Linked DNA regions of Homo sapiens: regions 2 and 3 are each linked to region 1. Evidence: promoter capture Hi-C in 16 types of primary human blood cells and fetal thymus (Javierre and others, 2016). All regions are on one chromosome and are shown on one strand. The core of a region is centred on a gene start or on the middle of the fragment in contact, and the rest is flanking DNA. Distances in the headings are between cores, read along the strand shown.

Region 1 (4,353 bases), core at 960-3,459:
TGAGTAAAGAACATGATAGACTATAATCTATAAAATCAGAGTTAGTTGTTAGTTTCAAAATAACAATGAAAACACGTGTTACTGAGCAAAATCAGCTGGGATTTCCAAAACTCTCACTAGTGTTATAGTTTTTTGTCTGGAAGTTCTAAACTGTCCTCTCATTTAAACATCAAAGTTTAAATATATAATACCTATTTTTGGAGGAGGCAAATCTATTACTTAAAAAAAGATACCATTTCTTCACTTATAAAGGAACATTTCCCCTAATGCCATTAATAATTAACATTTTTGTAATATCTAATATCTGGAGGTATAACCAGTAAACTATTTGATACATGGAATATTATGCAATTTGTCTTTTGAAAACAGTAATCAACAGAGGCGTTTAATATATATGAGACTTTTTATAGATTCTTTACATAGAAAAATATACACAATTCCTCAACATACATATGCCATATAATATGAGAAAAAAAAATTAATCTTGGGATCCCAAAATCACTAAGTAACGGAAAAGTCAAGCTGGGAACTATGTCACTAAACTTGCCTCCCATTTTATTCCTAAATAAGATACGTACAAAGATAAGAAGCTACATACGTTCCTCACAACGTGCCCACAAGGAAATTCCTTGTGGACAAAGGACAGACCCAACTCAAAGTTATCCCTGTGAGGCGCACAAGAGACAACTGCATATCTGATTGCTTCCTCTGCCTTATTATTTATTTATGTAAAAATACAGAGTTACTAGCCGGACTAAATTCTGTATTCAGTAGGAGGCTGATCAAGGACTCAAAAGCATGCAAACTCTTGTCTCTTATCTACATTTTTTTTTTTTTTTTTTTTTTTGAGACGGAGTTTTGCTCTTGTTGCCCAGGCTGGAATGCAATGGTGCCATCTCGGCTCACCGCAACCTCCGCCTCTTGGGTTCAAGCGATTCGCCTGCCTCAGTCTTCAGAGTAGCTGAGATTACAGGCATGCGCCACCATGCTCTGTTAATTTTGTATTTTTAGTAGAGACGGGGTTTTTCCATGTTGGTGACGCTGGTCTGAAACTCCCAACGTTAGGTCATCTGCCCGCCTCGGCCTCCCAAAGTGCTGGGATTACTGGCGTAAACCACAGCGCCCGACCTGTCTCTTATCTATTTCTAACATGGAAGCCCCCGCTTCGAGCTGTCCCTCTTACCTGACCGAACCAATCATGTTTCCCTAAAACGTACAAAAGCAAGCTGTGCCCTGACCACCTTGGGCAAATGTATCATGGGTAAGTCTTGCAAAATAAACTTTTTAAATTGACTAAGACCTCTCTCAGATATTTGGGGTTCAGAAATAAATTCTTTTACCTATTATTTATAATTTTGGTTACAATTGAGAAAGTAAGAAAAAAGTGGTGTTTTTTTCTTTTCTAAGGGTTACTGCATCTTGAAAGTGTGATGAAGGTCTTAATTATTGTTCTTATAATTCCTGTCCACAGAAGCTCCTACTCTTACTGAGACCTCACGGAATTATCATTATCACAATAGAAATAAACATTTTGGGTTTGTGGAGTAACTTTTTTTTTTTTTTTTTTTTTTGCTCATCGTTTGTTGTTTAGATAATATCATGAACTGATAAATGCAGTTGCCACGTTGATTCCCTAGGGCCTGGCTTACCGACTGAGGTCATAAGATATTATGCCTTCTCTTTAGACTTGGTCAGTGGAGAGGAAATGGGCAAAGAACCAGCCTATGGAGGTGACAAGGCCTTAGGGCCAAAAGTCTTGAGGGTGAAGGTTTAGGGCCTGCGCAGCTTCCCTGCCATGCCCCGCAAGGTCTCGCATTCGCAAGGCTTGTGACAGTGGGAGCCTCATTACGGACTCTCCTAAAGTCCATGGTGTCCTCTTTTCGCATTTGCGCCCCGTGGGTGATGCCCGATGCCGCCCTTCCCATCGCTCTCTTCCCCTTCAAGCGTATCGCAACTGCAAAAACACCCAGCACAGACACTCCATTTTCTATCTTAATGCATTTAACTAGCACAACCTACAGGTTGTTCCATCCCAGAGACTACCCTTTTCTCCATAGACGTGACCATCAACCAACCAGCGGTCAGAATCAGTCAGCCTCTGTCATGTTCCTAGGTCCTTGGCGAACTGGCTGGGCGGGGTCCCAGCAGCCTAGGAGTACAGTGGAGCAATGCCTGACGTAAGTCAACAAAGATCACGTGAGACGAATCAGTCGCCTAGATTGGCTACAACTAAGTGGTTGGGAGCGGGGAGGTCGCGGCGGCTGCGTGGGGTTCGCCCGTGACACAATTACAACTTTGTGCTGGTGCTGGCAAAGTTTGTGATTTTAAGAAATTCTGCTGTGCTCTCCAGCACTGCGAGCTTCTGCCTTCCCTGTAGTTTCCCAGATGTGATCCAGGTAGCCGAGTTCCGCTGCCCGTGCTTCGGTAGCTTAAGTCTTTGCCTCAGCTTTTTTCCTTGCAGCCGCTGAGGAGGCGATAAAATTGGCGTCACAGTCTCAAGCAGCGATTGAAGGCGTCTTTTCAACTACTCGATTAAGGTTGGGTATCGTCGTGGGACTTGGAAATTTGTTGTTTCCATGAAATCCTGCGCAGTGTCGCTCACTACCGCCGCTGTTGCCTTCGGTGATGAGGCAAAGAAAATGGCGGAAGGAAAAGCGAGCCGCGAGAGTGAAGAGGAGTCTGTTAGCCTGACAGTCGAGGAAAGGGAGGCGCTTGGTGGCATGGACAGGTACGCACCTCCATCACCCGCCTGGTTGGCTGGCGATACTCTCCGGGAAGGCCTGGACGCAGCTTGCCCACGTTGATGACGGGGTCATCCTCAGCTTGGCACTCACCAATCTGTCGCTGTCGCTCTTGGACTCGGGAAGGAGCAAGTCACTGGCTTTCTCAGACCATTAACAAGCTCTGTGTCTCTCTCTCTACAGCCGTCTCTTCGGGTTCGTGAGGCTTCATGAAGATGGCGCCAGAACGAAGACCCTACTAGGCAAGGTAAAAGCAACCAGACGCAAAGTCTTTGGTCCGCACTTTGCTCTACCAAGGCCCCGCGTTCCTTACCGCCCAGCCAGTATTTATTTTGGCTCTGCTCCATGGCCAAGGGGTCGGAAAAGTGTTTCTTGCCTTTGCTGTCCCCGTACTCTGGAATACTTCGCCCCTTGCTCCAGACTCCCTTCTACTCTGAGGAAAAAAAAAATCGGACGCTTTGGGACCGGGCTAAACCGGGTCTACACCACATGCCTGTTACTTTAGGGCCTTTTGTTCCTGAATTTTAGCGTCACAAATAGTGAATGTGTACAGTTTTCAAAATTCATAACTTCCTGCTTCTTCCCCTCGCCTTTTGGTATTTGGCTCTTGGTGTCTAATTTTAAACATTTTTTTGCCTTTTTAAAAAAAATATCCCTGGTGTCCTAAGTGTAAGTAGCAAGTAAGTTACAGCGGTGAAGAGTTTGCAGTAGATATTTGACCTATAAACTGATGCGTGTATGTTTAGCCTGAAGTTTAGTGATTTGTTGACTTTTTTAGGATGCACAGTGCTGCAAATGTGATTTCATGAATGTGTGTGCTTTTTCCATTCAGGAACCTTGTTTCTTAGGTGTCATGCTCACAGTGGGAAGAATTTGTTGTTTGTGTGAAAAGTTGGCACTGTCGTTTAGTTAATGGCTGCTCCTATCAGCCAAGATGGCGGGTAAAAAGGGGGAGGAGCAATAAAGGGGGAAGCTTGGGAAGAGGGTGGAGGTATTAACCCGGAAACCTTAGCAAGGAATAGACCGTAAAGAGCGCTGACGTAGCTTCATGTTGCTTATTAAAAATTATTATTATTTAAAAGTAGAATTCTTGCGTTATCTCCAACATTGACAGCAGCATTTTTAAACCTATATGTGCTTATTAATTGCAGCATGTTTAGTTACTCCCACGTGAATTGTTGCGTAACTTGGCCCTGGAATATTCCTGTGTGTATCGTTTTTTACCCTCTCACCAAAATCTTGTTAAAGTATTTGTATGTTGTCAATTGGTCCCGTGAAATAAGAACGGTACAACAATCGCGCCATCTTTTAGATGCTGAAGCCAGTAGTTAAGAATTTCAGTTTATTATTGTATTTGACAAGGAAATACTAATTATTTTCTCAGGATGAACATTTTACTTACCAAGACGTTTTACTTTGTAGTTTAATTCAGTACAGACGCTGAGTTCTTTTACCTATAATCTCCTTTGTATGTTTGTTTTGGGGGCAAATACTGATCAGAAAACTAAAATGTAATATATATATGTATGTATAATGTGTATATATATAGTTAGTAAATCCACTTTATTTGACTGATAAATGAAACATGAGTTAAACTTTGATTATGCAAGTG
Region 2 (4,353 bases), core at 1,056-3,555, 56 kb after region 1:
CAAGTGTTCTTTGGTGGTTTAGACCTTTACTACTTAGTATTGCAAATAAACACTGGACTGTTTTCTTTTCCCATTTTGGAGAAGACTCATAGTGACCACCAGAACTAAAACATTGGACAGGAACAAACTCATTGCCCTGTAGGTAGGTGGTTCCTAGTTTGGGGAACTTACAGTGAACACAAAATATTAAATGCTGCTGCAAAACTAAATTGCTACTCTGTTATGTTCCCCTTCTGGGGAAGACTTAAATAGTTACTGGAACTTAATGCTGACCTTTTGCTCATTTCCAGACGAGGGAAAGACTGCTTTGGATATCGAGGCCCTGTGGAAAATCTCAACAGAAATTTGGACCTTACTGCATATTGTGCCCCTTGTAGTACCTTGGTGCCAACTGGTCTCTTTAATGTGTTTCTCCTTCTGTTTGTAGTTCAAAGTATTCACCAGGATTCTTTCACCAGTCAGTGTGGTCCACAATCTGTTGTCTGTCCCCAGTTCACTCCAGGTGGGTCAGGCTTTCTGGCATTCCTAGTAGTTCTTGTGGGATAGGACCAAAGTGTGTTTTCTGTGAAGATTCTGAGATGGTAGAGGATGTAGAATGTTTACATCCACTTTCCTCCTCTCACCTTCGAAACTGTGGTTCTGGGGAAGTTTTCTGAGAGTATTTATGCTTGCTTGGGAGAGAGGAGAGCACAGTCTAAAACAATGATTTTCCTTGCCAGTTGCAGAATGTGGTTTTAATTAGCATTTTATTTGTGACTAATGATATTAAACATCTTTTCATGTGCTTATTTGCCTCTTTAGTGCATTTTTTGATAATGTGTATATGTGTCTGTGTTTTGCCTAAATTCTAATGAATTGTTTTGAAACTGCTGAGTTTTGAGAGTTCTTTATTGATTCTATTTACTAGTACTTCGTGGGATATGTGGTTTGTGACTACTTTCTCCCTGTTTGTTTTTTGTCTTTTCATCCACTGAATACTGGGTTTTCTTTAAGTACATTGGAATAATATTACTTTTGATAGTCTATAATTTCATGAATTTGTTTTTCACTTTGATGTCTGGAACATAGTTTTCTTTTTGTTAGCTTTTCCTATGTTTTTAGAGACAAGGTCTTAGTACATTGCCTAGGCTGCTCTTGAACTCCTGGGCCTAGGCAGTCCTCTTGTCTCTCTCTGTTTTTTTATTTTGGAGACGGGATCTCTCTCTGTCGCCCAGGCAGGAGTGCAGTGGTGCAGTCTCCGCTAACTGCAAGCTCTGCCCCCCGGGTTCAAGCGATTCTCCTGCCTCAGCCTCCTGAGCAGCTGGTACTACAGGCATCCACCACCACATCCAGCTAATTTTTGTATTTTTAGTAGAGACAGGATTTCACTGTGTTAGCCAGGATGGTCTTGACCTCCTGACCTCTTGGTCCGCCCGCCTCCAAAGTGATGGGATTACCTACATGAGCCACCATGCCCAGCCTCTGGTGGTTTTTGTTTTGTTTTGTCTTGTTTTGTTTTGAGATGGAGTTTTGCTCTGTCACCCAGGCTGGAGTGCAGTGGCACAATCTCAGCTCACTGCAACCTCCACCTCCTGGGTTCAAGCAATTCTTGTGCCTCAGCCTCCCGAGTAGCTGGGACTATAGACGTGCCCCTCCATGCCCAGTTAATTTTTGTATATTTAGTAGATACGGGGTTTAACTGCGTTGGCCAGGCTGGTCTCAAACTCCCGACCTCGTGATCTGTCCACCTCGGCCCTCCAAAGTGATGGAGTTACAGGCATGAGCCACCACATCCAGCCATTCTCTCTCTATATTTTTAAAGCAGGCCTTCTTGTGTAAGTGGGTGAATGTGCATAGTGAAGTTTCTAGTGGAGTTTGTTGATACTCTCTTTAGGGTTAGGTGAAAGCTGGACATTGTTATCTTTTAGAGCATGAGGATGTAGTAACTGAGGTGAGTTCCCTTCTGGGCTCTTCTGATGGAAGGGAAGGTTGGGGCAATCAGAATGCCAACTATGGTCTGCCCAATTCTGCCTGGTTGATGCTAGTAGTATGTAGTGACACAACTTCCTGTTGGGCCTTGCTAACAGGTATAAAAAAAGAGGTTGCAAACTTCCAAATAACTTCAGTGCCCCTGTTCTTTTCTCCCACATAAATAAAGCTTATCTCTCCACAGGGCCCTCTTTATAATATCCTGCTGGGTGAAATGGAGTACTGCCTACTTTCACTAGATGGAGATATACAATTAACTCCAATTTCATTATTTACTGACACCATCTGGTTAGAAAAATTGGAGCACTGCCTGGTTCAAATGACAAAGGGGTAGTACGTCAGCTTTTGGTTCGGCCTTGCCTAAAATACCCTGTAGTGGAATCTTTGTGCCATAATCTGCTTCTACTTTGTAGAGAATGAAAGATTTACTCATCTCTTTGTTGATACTCCAGAAGAATCCGGAGTACCAGTTCCCTTTGCCAGCAAAGGATGGAAGATAAGCTTTTGGCTTGTTCTGCTGACACTGCTCTGCTGGGAAATTGTGGTATGCAGTCTGCTTCCTAGTGGTAATTGGGATAAGAATATCAGTTTCCTTTTTAGCCCTATTGCAGCCGTATTATGTCTGTGCGTGGTGGAGTGTAGGAGAATGCAACTGTACTTTTTTTACCCTGTGGTTTCTGGCAGTGTTGTGGATAAGTTTTCAGTTTCTATGCCATTCTTTTCCTGGTGTTTTGGCTAGGAGTAATAGGATTTTTTTAGTGGCCTGGGTTGGAGCCTTCAGCAATACCCTGTCTGTAACATATAGAAGGCAACAAGGAAAAACGGGCACTTGCCATATTGTCATTCTTTGAGTCCCAATGTCTGTATGCAGTCCTGCTTCTGGTTTTATCTTAAGAATTTTGAGATGGGTCCTGAAGAGTACTCAGTCCTCATACTGGTAATTCCCAAACACTTAGGTGAGATCTTTAATTCACTGCTCTCTATGTGCATATTTTTCCAGTCTGTTTGATGATAGTAGTTATGGATCTTGGTTTTGTAGACATTGTTCTCTCTGGTTCTTTCAATAGCTTTTTCCCTGATATTGGTAATTTTCTTAAGAAGAGTTTAAACCACTTCAGATCTCTGAAGCTGCCTTTGTAGCTCTCTACTTTTTAGAATTCTGTCTCAAGATCTCTTGATTAGTTATGTTGGTTTCCTTACACTCACAGATCTAGTTCTTCATCCAAGCAGTCTCCATGGTTTTACCTGCTTTATCTTGTGTCATTGATATTGCCATTACGGAGTTTATATCAGTTGTTTTTACTTTTCATTCAGAGATACTATCTTTCTTAATTGATATACATTATTCAACTTCTCTTTAATGATTCTTTTTTCCCCTTTCAGTTTTTTTGGGAAAACCAAGAAGTCTTTTAGTACCTGTCTTTTAGTGTCCTTCTTTATTGAACTTTGTTTTTATTATTTCTTGAAATCACTTCTAGGCAAATGAAGCTAGTTGGATTTTGATGTGTTCATTTTATTGTGTTTTCATACTGTCTTCTACTTATGCTCAGTTTCTATTTCTCATGGCGAGGGTTGAAGTTTTTTGTAAAATAAGGTATATAGTATGAGCTGTTTTTAAGAAAAATATTAAGCAAATTGTAATAAATCTCAGTGGATGTTTGAAAATACTTTAGTTATACTTGAATAAGAAGTTTGGAAGATGAATTAGGAAGAAATAGAAAATGTTCTAGGCATATAACATTTTGGCAAGCAAAAGTCTAATTTAAATGGTTGACATTTTGTGACAAATATGTTGTTATAATAATTTTCATTTGTTTATGAGCATGCATATTTCCTGTTTGTTTATATTTTATATTCCTCACACCAACATCTTTTTATGTTATGAATTAATCGATCAAGAGTTGAAATAGTGACACTTATTGAACTACTGTTGTTTCCTAGGTAGAATATAATAGCATTTCTATTAAAAAAAATTATAGTAGACACAGTTGATATGTTGCTCTTTCTCTCTTTTTAAAACTTTTAGATTTGGGGGCACATGTGAAACTTTGTTACATAGGTAAACTCATGTCACTAGGGCTTGTTCTTCAGATCATTTTATCAGCCAGGTATTAAGCCTGGTACCCAATAGTTATCTTTTCTGCTCCTCTCCCTCCTCCTACCCTCCACTCTCAAGTAGATCCCAGTGTCTCTTGCAGTATTTGATTTTCTGTTCCTGTTTTAGTTTGGTAAGGATAATAGCTTCCAGCTCCATCCATGTTCCTGCAAGAGACGTGATCTTATTCCTTTTTATGGCTGCTTAATGTTCCATGGTGTATATGTACCACATTTTCTTTATTTACTCTTTAATTGCTGGGCATTTAGGTTGATTCCATGTGTTTGTTG
Region 3 (4,353 bases), core at 1,068-3,567, 39 kb after region 1:
TTGAGGTGGGAAAACAAGGCAGGATACCCATTTCAGACAAAGACAGTAAATTATTTAACCTGTGACAATTCTGAGAAAGCTTACAATTTAGTTATCTTGACCAGTCAACCTCGAAGCTGGACAGAGCTGGGGTAAGGGAAAACAGGAATGACAGAAATATGCGGGGGTCTGGAGGCAGGCGATAAGCTTGGAAGGTTGAGATAAGCCCGCAGCTGCAACTTGTTAGCAATGCCGGGAAGGGCTACTTAAATTTCTTAGCCTATGTGTAACCTGTACTTAATGTTAACTATTACCTACGTTATGTTTATTATTTTCAACTTTATTGTTTATTTTATTTTATTTTCTTTCCACATTCCCCCCTTTAAAAGCTTTCTTTTAAAAGAAACTATTATTAGAAAGCTTTTACCTGTTCCTGATGATGCACATGCAGCTAGGATGGTAGGACAGAGTCAAAGGCCTGTCAAAAGGCAATTCATCTGTTTGCATGGGGAGTTACTTTGCCGGTGTATCTGCTCTTAGCGTCACTTTTCTTCTTTGTGGGAGCACACTGGCTCTCTGGCTTAATTTTTCTCAGCCTTTGCTGTCCTCCCTGTGGCTGTGCCTGTCTTCTTAGATTGTTCCTATCTTTCAGGGAATCTTCCCCATCATTGACTAACCAGCCACCTACCTGGGGGGCATGATTTTTGGTGTCTTCTCTAGAGAGAAGCACGAGTAAGTCAGCCAGGAGCTGAACTTAGTATTTTCTGTGGCATCATTTGCCTGTGCCTAAGTAGAAGTCAGATTAAACTTCAGCAAGTTATTTTTATAAATGATGTTTAAAGCCTAGCTCTTCTATCCCATACCTATACATGTGTGTTTTATAATCCGTGTAGAACGTAAAGAGGGTGAGGCATGGGAAAGGAAACTACTTTGGAGAAAACCTATGTTAGTTTCATAATTCTCTACCTTCTCATGAGATGAGATTTCTTTGGGTAATGGCTGATACTTAGTGCCATTATTTGGGGGGTGGTGTAGTGGACTGTATCTTCCTAAACAGGAGAGGCAATAAACAAGGGAGTATTAGACAGCTGCCTAATGGAAGTATTACACTTACAAGGAGAGTCTTGAATCCTCCAGAAGATGAAAACCATCCACCAAGAGAGTCTGGGGTCCAACCTTTCCAGGTTTGTACTGGAACGAGAGCTAACTTTCTCAGTTTGGCAGTGATTTCATAACTGCCTACCTGTTGTCATCAATTTCTAAATAACAGTTAATCAGGTTAAATTTACTACAGACCCCTTTTGAATCCAGCAGATAATCTAATGCCAGTCTGTTTTGATAAACCGCATTTCTCATTCTGTGTAGATAGTACATCTAATAAATCTAAAGCTTTAGTTGTTTCTTTAGTTATAATTTTTAATACTGCTTGTAACCTAATGATGTGATTAATCATGTAGATGGGAGTACAGTATCCCCATGATCTATCTTGCACCCAGGTGGCTGGGCCATAATAATTCATTATTCTCTCTGCAATCTGTATCTTTCCAATCCCCTATTTCTATATCTTTTACTGCTCCTTTGTTTTTACTTCTAGGCTCATCATAAATAGGATACCCTAAAGTTTCTCCTTGCTTTAAAGGTAACAGGAAGAACGATGTTTTAGTAACACCTAATACACAAGCTCCTGTCCGTTTTTCTGGCAACCGCCTGTAGGCTTGCTGACCACAGATCCAGTAGAGGCCTACAGGCACTTACCATGTGTTTGGTGTTTCTAGTTGATACCAAGAGTGATTTAAAGAAGGGAACCTAGAAAATGGGATGAAATGAGATGGCCTTGAACTGTTTTTACCCTTTTTATTTTCTCTTTGCCATGGAGTTTTTCCTGTAGTTTCATTGTAGTATTGTTGCCCTAAACAAGCTAATTTGCCTGCTGGGTGTGTATAGGTAGTCCCCCAACGAGGTATGCAGTGTCTTCCTGTAATAGAAGCCTTTAAAAGCCAAGTGCTAGAGCCAGTAGGGATTAATTCTGGAGCATTTGTGGCAGAGAAAATTAAAGTGTAGTTGTCCTGGGGAAGCAATTCTTTTGCCTCCCAATGCCATCTATCCTCCATGTCAGTTACCATGAGGTAACTCCTAGATTTCCTGCTATATTCTTAGCTAATTGCACAGACAGATTTTTAGTGGTAAACGATGGCTCAGAAACTACTTGGTTAATTTCTTCACTGAATGACTTGAAAATTTTAAATCATTGCTGAGGTTTGTGAGCTTGAGTCTTTTTGATAATATAAAATAAAATAATATAAAATATATAATGGTATAATATAAAAATATATGGTGCTGTCGGTAGCCTGCACCCTGGAATATTTAATGCCTCATCTCTTTAGCTTAGGATCTGCCTCCTATTCTGTGGCTTCATCACTGTATCCCTCTGGGACTTCAGTGCCTATTGCCCAATTAGGTGAATCTGATTTGAAATAAGAAATTCAGTGAGGCTACAGGAATTTCCTCTTACACAATTGTCATAGTTATACCAATCTATGGAGAGGTTTCTGGAGAAATGTATGTCTTGAGACTGTGGAGTATCACTAATCCAGTATGGGATATGACTGGTTACAGTCAACTTTCTTTTGGAGTCAGGAATGTAGCAGCCAGTTTTAAGGAGTGTTCTTGTAATCTGGCAGGCATCTAAATACAGATACACACAGTGTTTATTGGTGGAGGGTATCCAGGTTGAATTTTAAAGAGTTCCTTTTTCAGACCTTTCACTAATGTCGAACCAAGTTCCAGGTAGAAGTTTGGGGTCATAGCAGACACAGGGCTGATTATCACCAAGATCACACATTGAATAAGTAGTCTGGTTATGTACACAAATTCCTAGAGAAGCTCCTGTTTGCTTATAAAGGGTTTGATATATAAAGGTTTTAACCTGTGTGTTCCTTGCCCAAGTAGTGTGGGTGCACAGAGAAAACTCAATTGTATTTCCGCCCCCTTTGTAAGTTTGACATATTAGTTAATATAAGCAAAACAGAGAGTAACATCTTCACACTAGGCACAGGCAGGGTATGTTTCTTCCTGAAAGCAAGGGTTGGCAACAATGGCAGTATAACAATAGTACAGCAAATATTACTAGAAGAGCAATAGGTATTAAAATATCAGTCCATATCTACTTTACTCATCTACTTATTTACTACTTTACTTATCTACTTATTTACTTATCTACTTATGAAATATCAGTCCATATCTTACTTATCCATATCCACTTATCTATTGAACACTCCTCAAGCTTTGGTCATGTGTAGAGTAGTCAGCTTCTTATTGTGTGACTACAGCAGGGCTTGGCGATTTTTCATTAACAGTTGGGTCTGAGGTCGGCTGGTCTGGGTTTGGTCTCTGTTGGCACCTCATCTTAGAGTTAGCTTGGTGGGTTGGTCGGGGTCTGGCTGGCTGGTCCACACATCCTAGGCAGCAGCTGGCTAACCCACTATGATGGATCCAGGGAAGCACTTCAGCAACCTTAACAGCAGTGGGGGTAGATAAGATTACTACAAAGGGCTCATTCCATATGTGCCTTAATGTGGATAGGTACCAGTTTTTGACCCAGCCAGAGTCCCTGGGTTTGTTGGTATGGGTGAACTGGGCTAGTTAGGCCTACTGGCAGTCTTCTTGCACCCAGCTTTGCAACTTCTCTCACGGCTGTACCTAAAGCTTGCATTTGCTTTCTCAGTGTTAGTTCCCGTACTTCTTTGAGATCTCCTTTAATTTGGAAAATAAGATGGGGAGGCCTTCCAAACAGAATTTCATAGGGTGAGTATCCAGTTTGCTTGTTTGGGGTGCATGTGATTCAAAGGAGAACCATGGACAGAGCCAGATCCCACTTTAGGTGGGTTTCTTGACAGAACTTTTTAAACAGTTGCTTTATTGTCCGGTTCATCCTTTCAACTTGTCCTGAACTCTGGGGATGGTGCGCAGTGTGCAGCTTCCATCTTGTTTTAATAATTGGGATAAGTTTTGAACAACTTCAGCGACAAATGTTGGGTCATTATCTGACCCGATAGTCAAAGGCACCCCAAACCTGGGGATAATATGTGCTAGTAATGCCCACGTTACTTCTTGGGCCTTTTCAGATTGGGTGGGGAAAGCTACTCACCCAGGATAGGTGCATACAAAGACCAATAAATACTTTAGTCCTCTTACATGGGGTAACTAAGTAAAATCTACCATCGGGTTCTCATGGGGTTGAGCCTAGTTGTATTCTAAAGGTAATGGTTTTGGGAAAAGAGGTAACTTACATTAAAGCTTCTTCCTGTGGTGCGGTTGCCATAGCTGCCTGCCTTGCTTGTCTGTCTGCCTATTTCCTATGGATTTATAGGACCC

What was found. The method cuts DNA at HindIII sites, captures the fragments that hold promoters and counts their contacts. A CHiCAGO score of 5 or more calls a contact.
Region 2: a contact is called between a fragment that was not itself captured here and the fragment with the promoter of UTY in region 1, in 1 of 17 cell types (megakaryocytes). The highest score is 6.8, in megakaryocytes.
Region 3: a contact is called between a fragment that was not itself captured here and the fragment with the promoter of UTY in region 1, in 1 of 17 cell types (megakaryocytes). The highest score is 6.0, in megakaryocytes.

The regions. Positions count from the first base shown.
Region 1 is chrY:13,477,889-13,482,241 of GRCh38, reverse strand. UTY (ubiquitously transcribed tetratricopeptide repeat containing, Y-linked) reads left to right here and starts at 2,209. Exons shown (of 30, transcript NM_001258249.2): 1 at 2,209-2,728; 2 at 2,925-2,988. The coding sequence starts at 2,577. It overlaps MIR12120 (microRNA 12120), which reads right to left and starts at 3,065; the gene lies at 2,976-3,065. The HindIII fragment of the contact is 7,265 bases long and covers 1-3,716 here.
Region 2 is chrY:13,421,551-13,425,903 of GRCh38, reverse strand. All of the region lies in intron 4 of UTY (ubiquitously transcribed tetratricopeptide repeat containing, Y-linked), which reads left to right. Among named protein-coding and RNA genes, the nearest start is that of MIR12120, 55 kb to the left of the region's middle. The HindIII fragment of the contact is 332 bases long and covers 2,140-2,471 here.
Region 3 is chrY:13,439,117-13,443,469 of GRCh38, reverse strand. All of the region lies in intron 4 of UTY (ubiquitously transcribed tetratricopeptide repeat containing, Y-linked), which reads left to right. Among named protein-coding and RNA genes, the nearest start is that of MIR12120, 38 kb to the left of the region's middle. The HindIII fragment of the contact is 1,894 bases long and covers 1,371-3,264 here.